Linked DNA regions of Homo sapiens: region 1 is linked to region 2. Evidence: promoter capture Hi-C in human tissues and cell types (Jung and others, 2019). All regions are on one chromosome and are shown on one strand. The core of a region is centred on a gene start or on the middle of the fragment in contact, and the rest is flanking DNA. Distances in the headings are between cores, read along the strand shown. Region 1 overlaps ELMOD1 (ELMO domain containing 1). Region 2 holds the start of RAB39A (RAB39A, member RAS oncogene family).

Region 1 (3,274 bases), core at 153-2,652, 300 kb after region 2:
GAAGCAATAAAGAAATAGATCTGTAAATGCTCTTGAGCTAATCAGTGGTTGTTTAGGAAAGAAAGAAAGAAAGAAAAAGAAAGAAAGAGAGAGGGAAAGAAAAGAAGGAAAGAAAGAAAGAAGGAAAGAAGATAAGAAGGAAAGAAGGAAGGAAGGGAAGGGGAAGGGGAAGTGGGGGACAGGAGGGAAGGGAGGGACAGGAGGGAGGAACAGAGGGAGAGAGGAAGGAAGAGAATAAGGAAGGGAGAAAGAAAAGGTGTATCTGTTTCTTATTTGAGTTTAAGGATTTTGGGATTCATTGTACCCTTTCCTCCTTTTAATTTCATTTGTTTTATGTCCTTTTTTTTTTTTTTTTTCATGACTGCATGCTTTGGGAGGAGGCATTTCAAATGTACCTGTGAGACAGAACCCACTTACTGTCTCTTGTACCAGCACTAATCTCAACCTCCTGTTTCACACCCTCCTCACCTTCTGAACCCTCTGCTCAGGGGGTTTATGGCTCTGCTCCTTTCCCTCCTAGGCTGAATCAGGAAACCAATAAGCTTAGTTTTAATTGGGCAATATTCGCTTTTCTTCTTCATAACACTAGACTTAGTTTTCTTCATTTTGATGGAAGATTCTTGACTCACTACTAAAAATAATCTGTTAGATTTTGTAGGAACAACAATTAAATCCTCAAGACTAGATGGAGAAAATACTGATCACCACCTCCTCTTTCTAATAACTACATGCATAGGCAGCAGTTTTTTTGTTTATTTCTGTTTTTTAATCACAGCTTTTTGATAGTGTTCCAGAAAGAGTTACTGTAGCTTCCTAAGATGAATGCCTTGCTTAAACACTGGGAGAATCTGATTCAATAATAAGAGCTACTACACATGCTCCATTTCCAATCTTTTCTGTTACTGCCTTTTATTAATATGCTGCAGAGTGATGTTTATGGCTGAGTTCACAGCAGTGTTCTTCCATAAAGCAATTATGATCACGTTTATTATTTAACATTCATTCTCTAGTTTGAACCAGAATAGCCACCCAATGTAAATTATTCGAAATGGATCATATCTCTGCTACCAAACAAAAGCAACCTCCGGTCTTGTGGCGCTTTGTTAGAGGAATCCATTCAGGAGGGATGGGGCTTTCAAAACAGGAAATGCGCCTAAAACCATGTAGCCCCTTGCCTGTGGGGTGAGGGGGTGTGGGTACCTGTAATGCAACACTATGCCATCATCCTAAATTTGTGACTCTGACGTCTTCTTTTGGAACAGTAAGAGAAAAGTGGCTTATTTTGAACAGTTTCAATGAATGTGCTAATGAAAGTTAATTCTTGCTTGAAGAAATCCTGTAATAAATAAAAAGTACACTATTGTTGATGAAAGATATGTACAAAAATAATCACAGTTCTTGGTTCAAACCACAGTTTCCCAAATGAAATACTTTTCATCTAAATGTCATAAAGAAGAGCAAGCGGCTCAATGTCCCCGACAGATCATTTAGTTGCTCCACTGAAGTTCCTAAGTAGGGGCACTGACAATCGGTTGGGAATTAACTTATCAATAGGTACTTTGCCTAGTAAATGGGACCATCCGTATAAGAGCTCTCTACTAGGAAGAGAGGCTGCAGAGGACTTGGTACATGAACTGGAAATGTGAAATCACACAAAGAAACCATCCGTGGGTCTCTAGGAAAACAAGAGTATTTCCTTCCTGTAGAGCAGGGGAGAGGTTCCAAGATCCCACGCCCAGATAGTGTGGGGCCCTGTGGTTTTTTCACATTATTCTTTTTCTGAAGAGATCACACTAACTTCCGAAAAAGTAAAAATTAAGGGGATTGGTGGTTATATATCTATCATAGATCAATGTTATTCAAAATTATACTGCTGTAGCAAAGGGCACTCTTTTTATAATATATTCCAGGGAAATTGTATCTGAAGGCTTAGAGAGCACTAGTTGATTGTGTAATAATTAAAATAAATTAATTAATAGTGTAACCCTTTCCTTTCAAAGAAAAGGAGGTACAGGTTTCTCTTAATTTACTAACAACAACATTATTCAACCAAAATTTTGATGATTAAATACACTTTATAAGATTTATTTCTATTTATTTATTTGTCAAGACACGGTCTTACTCTGTTGCCTAGGCTGAAGCAGCCTCGACCTCTCTGGGCTCAGGTGGTCCTCCTACCTCAGCCTCCCCTGTAGCTGGGACTACAGGTACGCGCCACAATGCTCAGCTAATTTTTGTATTTTCTATAAAGATGGGGTCTTGCTGTGTTGCCCAAGCTGGTCTTGAACTCATGGGCTTGAGCAATCTGCCTGCCTCAGCCTCCCAAAGTGCTAGGATTATAGGCATGAGCCGCCGTGCCTGGCTACAAGATTTATTTTTTAAAATCAGGTTATGTTTTACTCTTTGGATAATACTTTTATTGACTTATTTATAAGGAGAAACAATGAACACATTATAACACATTATACTTTGACATTTTAAAAGTATTTAAATGCAACCTCAAATATAAACTTTTATTGGTAAATAAAAATATTTTTAAGGCAACCCAAATTAAGTAAACATATAAATAAAGTCATCAAAGGTATTATTCATGCTCCATCATCAATTATAGGGTTCAAAATATTCTATAGGGGATAAGAAATAGGCCTGTTATTATTATAAATTTGCTACATAATATAATTCAAAAAAAATTTAAACAACCTAGTTAGAGGACATGCTCAGTATTGTGAACAAATTAATTTTTGTTAAAGACCTAGAGCAGCTGAAAGAAAGAGATTTGAAATAAGTTGGGGGGAAATGAAAAATGACAATTGAAAGGTATTTCAATTTATTTTATTTATTCCTTCATAGAGCCAAATACAAAATAAGACTGACCGTGCAGTACAGAAGAAATGAGAGTGGGAGATATGGCAGTGGAAAAAGTGAACATGAGTCAAGAACTTATTTTCACAGCAAGCCATATGACCTCCCTGTCCACAAGGAGCTTGTAGTCTAGCAAGGAAAAGGACAGTAAAAACAGAAAGTTGAAAAACAGTGTGACAATTCTATAAAAGCAAAACACCCAGGGTGTTGGAGAGGCAGAGGAGAGAGAGACAGTACGTTCCTCTCAGGTTGGACAGGAAAGCCAGCTCCACCATCCCACAGAGACAGACAGAACAGCCTGGAAAATCAGCGTGCTTTCCTCACTTCAGTACAAAAGTGAAAATTCCAATGAGTAAATGAATGAAATTCAAACTAACATTTATTGAGTGCCCGTGGCTTTCGGGTATATTGC
Region 2 (3,357 bases), core at 66-2,565:
AAATATTCAGGAAATGCATATAATTTCATTTACTTTTTATTTACACAAGTCGCCTTTGTGAAACCCTTCATGTCCCCAGCGGATATTTAGGAGGAGACTATTCATTTGGATCCCTCCTTCTGTCTTTAGAAATATTATCACCCTGGAACGTTAAGTACTGATCATAAGCAAAATTAAAGTTCCTGGCGAATCTCAATATATGTCTTTTTCCCACCAAACATGACAAACTTCTAAAGACAACTCAACCCTTCACATACACACACACACACACACACACCCTCAGCTGTGCCAGTGTCCCTGATGTTGCATCTAGTTAACCTACAAGACCCATTCCCACGGGTCATGACCCAGTATTTCTGATGACCACATTCAGTGCTGTGAGGTGCCCAAACCATTACCGCATCCACCTCTCTGTGAACCATGCCCAGTGAGCTCATGCAGGAACCTGGGTTGGAGCGCTCCTTGCTGTGAAGCTAAAGGATCCATCACGAATCTGGGAACCCTCCCTCGCGGTTCTCCCCGGCCACACAGCGTGGGAGCCGCTGGGTTAGGGTAGGAAAAGGGGCGCCTGCTTGGAGGAGGGTGGTCGGGTCATGCTGTGCGCAGCCAGGGAAGCCGAGTTTGGGAAGAAGGCAGCCGGGGAGCCGGAGGGGATAAAAATACCCACAGGGGCTGAAAGAGTTGGGGAAGAGGGGGCGGCGAGGACGACCCCGGTTCAGGCGGGAAAGGAAAGATGGAAAGGGGGCGCAGGAAATGGGCGCCAAAGAAAGAAGTGAGAAATTGCGGAGGAGGAAGTCGTCCCTGGAAGAGGAGGGGCAAAGGGGAAGCGAGAATGGAGTGTTTGCACTTTCGAGAGGGAAGGGCCAGAGCCTCTCCCGACCAGGGCCGGCGGGGCGGACGCCTGGGGAAGGGGCGTCCGGGCGGGCTGAGGGGGCGGCGCGGTGCCCAAGGTCCCCGGGGTCCCTACCTGAACCGCTCCTGTCCCGCCGTGTCCCAGAGCTGTAGCTTGATCCTCTTGCCCGGCTCGATCTCCAGCAGGCGGGAGAAGAAGTCCACGCCGACGGTGGGGTCGCAGGCGGGGGAGCGCAGCCCGGGGAAGCGGCCCTGGGTGAAGCGGTGCAGGAGGCAGGACTTGCCCACGGTGGAGTCCCCGATCACGATGAGGCGGAACTGGTAGATCCAGATGGTCTCCATCGCTCACGTGCCCCGCTGGCTCCCGGGCCGCCCCACCCGCGGGCTAAGTTCGGCGGCGGGAACTGTCCTTTCAGCACCTCGCGGGCGCCCGCCCGCCGCCTTCCAGCATATTCCTGCGGCTGCGGCCGCCGCCTGGTGCCCGCCCTCTCGGGAGAGAGAGGCGGGGCCAGGCCCGGCTAGGGGCGGGGCCTCTGGACGGGGGCGGGGCGGGGGCGGTGGCGCGTGGGAGGGGGAAGCAGGTTTGCTGCCGCGAACTCCCGCCCCTGACCGGCTGCAAATCACTCTCCCTCAACGCTCACTGGGCGCCGGCAGGAAAGTGGGCGTGGCGGGAAGACGTGACAGCAGCAACAACCAAGGAAAATGAAGCAAGGTCTCAACTCCGGGAGGGTCAGCCAATGAAAAGTGAGAGTCGTTTTCTTACAGGCGTCAGGGCGGGTTGGTCAGATTAGGGCTCTGATTTTGGAAGTCCCTGAGGCCATAACTTGGGTCATTGCTTTGATTCCTCTTTTTTTTTTGTCCCCCAGGCTGGATTGATGTGGTGAGATCTCGGCTCATTGCAGCCTCAAGCGATCTGCCCACCTCAGCCTCCCAAGCAGCGGGGACCACGGGTGTGAGCCATCACACCTGGCTAATTTTCTTCTGGGTTAAAAAAAAATTTTTTTTTTAGAGATGTGGTCTCGCTATGTTGCTTAGGCTGGTCTCAAACTCCTAGGTTCAAGCGATCCATCCACCTCAGCCTCCTGAGTAGCTGGGACTACAGGCGGGGGCCACCACATCCCGCTAATTTTCTAACTTTTTGTAGAGATGGGGTCTTGCTGTGTTGCCCAGGCTGGTCTCGAACTCCTGACCTCAAGTGATCCTCCAGGCTCAGCCTCCCAGTGCTGGGATTACAGGTGTGAGCCACCACACCCTGCTTTCTTGTCTTGATGAGAGCCACCTCCAAGGCATTTTAAGGTGAAGGAGTTTTGGGCAGGATTGAAATAAATTTGCACAGCCAGTTCTGGGTGCTTCTAGCAAGGGCTCTGGCTGTTGCTGCGTGCTGCCACTGTCTGTTCTTCACTGCTATGAGTACCACAGAAGAGTGAGAAACGCCAAGTATCATCCCCATACCCTCTGGGGCCCTCCAACCCTGGGGACAGTGGCAAAAAAAAAAAAAAAAAAAAAAGCCGGGGAAATGTTGAGAAGCTCATGAAATTTTCAGCTCTCCTTGGTCTCCATTGTTTAAGTCAGAAAAAAGCGAACAGGTGGTCTCTTAGCTCATGTCTGATTAATGATGTAAGTAAACAAAGCAGAACTTAAATTCTGGTGAGATCTTACTACTTTCTTGTGCCTTTCCTCAAATTGAGTAATAGTGACGTCAAGGTTTATCTTTAAAAAGTGAAACAGTTTAAAAGTGTGTGTTAGGCCGGGCGCGGTGGCTCACGCCTGTAATCCCAGCACTTTGGGAGGCTGAGGCGGGTGGATCACCTGAGTCAGGAGTTCGAGACCAGCCTCAACATGGAGAAACCCCGTCTCTACTAAAAATACAAAATTAGCCGGGCGTAGTGGTGCATGCCTGTAATCTCAGCCACTCGGGAGGCTGAGGCAGGAGAATTGCTTGAACCCGGGAGGCAGAGGTTGTGATGAGCTGAGATCGTGCCATTGCACTCCAGCCTGGGCAACAAGAGCGAAACTCCATCTCAAAGAAAATAAATAAATAAATAAAAGTGTGTGTTTAGGCCGGTCGCAGTGGCTCACGCCTGTAATCCCAGCACTTTGGGAGGACGAGGCGGGCAGATCGCCTGAGGTCAGGAGTTCGAGACCAGCCTGGCCAACATGGCGAAACTTCGTCTTTATTAAAACTACAAAAATGGCCGGGTGCAGTAGTTCATGCCTGTAATCCCAGCACTTTGGGAGGCCGAGGTGTGTGGATCACAAGGTCAGGAGTTCAAGACCAGCCTGGCCAAGATGATGAAACCTCCTCTCTACTAAAAATACAAAAATTAGCCACGCACGGTGGCAGGCGCCTGTAATCCCAGCTACTCGGGAGGCTGAGGCAGGAGAATCGCTTGAACCTGGGGGGCAGAAGTTGCAGTGAGCTGAGATGGTGCCACTGCACTCCAGCCTGGACGACAAAGCAAGACTCCTCGTCTCAAAAAAAAAAAAAAAAAAAAAAAGCTACAA

Evidence for each region. Contacts are between HindIII fragments. The study calls those that stand out against the background at their distance.
Region 1: a fragment that was not itself captured here is called in contact with the fragment with the promoter of RAB39A in region 2 in 1 of the 25 tissues and cell types used here (spleen).

Annotation. Positions count from the first base shown.
Region 1 is chr11:107,623,459-107,626,732 of GRCh38, reverse strand. All of the region lies in intron 2 of ELMOD1 (ELMO domain containing 1), which reads right to left. Among named protein-coding and RNA genes, the nearest start is that of ELMOD1, 34 kb to the right of the region's middle. The HindIII fragment of the contact is 3,491 bases long and covers 1-3,147 here.
Region 2 is chr11:107,926,406-107,929,762 of GRCh38, reverse strand. It overlaps RAB39A (RAB39A, member RAS oncogene family), which reads right to left and starts at 1,315. Exons shown (of 2, transcript NM_017516.3): 1 at 968-1,315. The coding sequence starts at 1,194. RefSeq lists silencers at 840-1,059, 1,090-1,579. The HindIII fragment of the contact is 22,665 bases long and covers 1-3,357 here.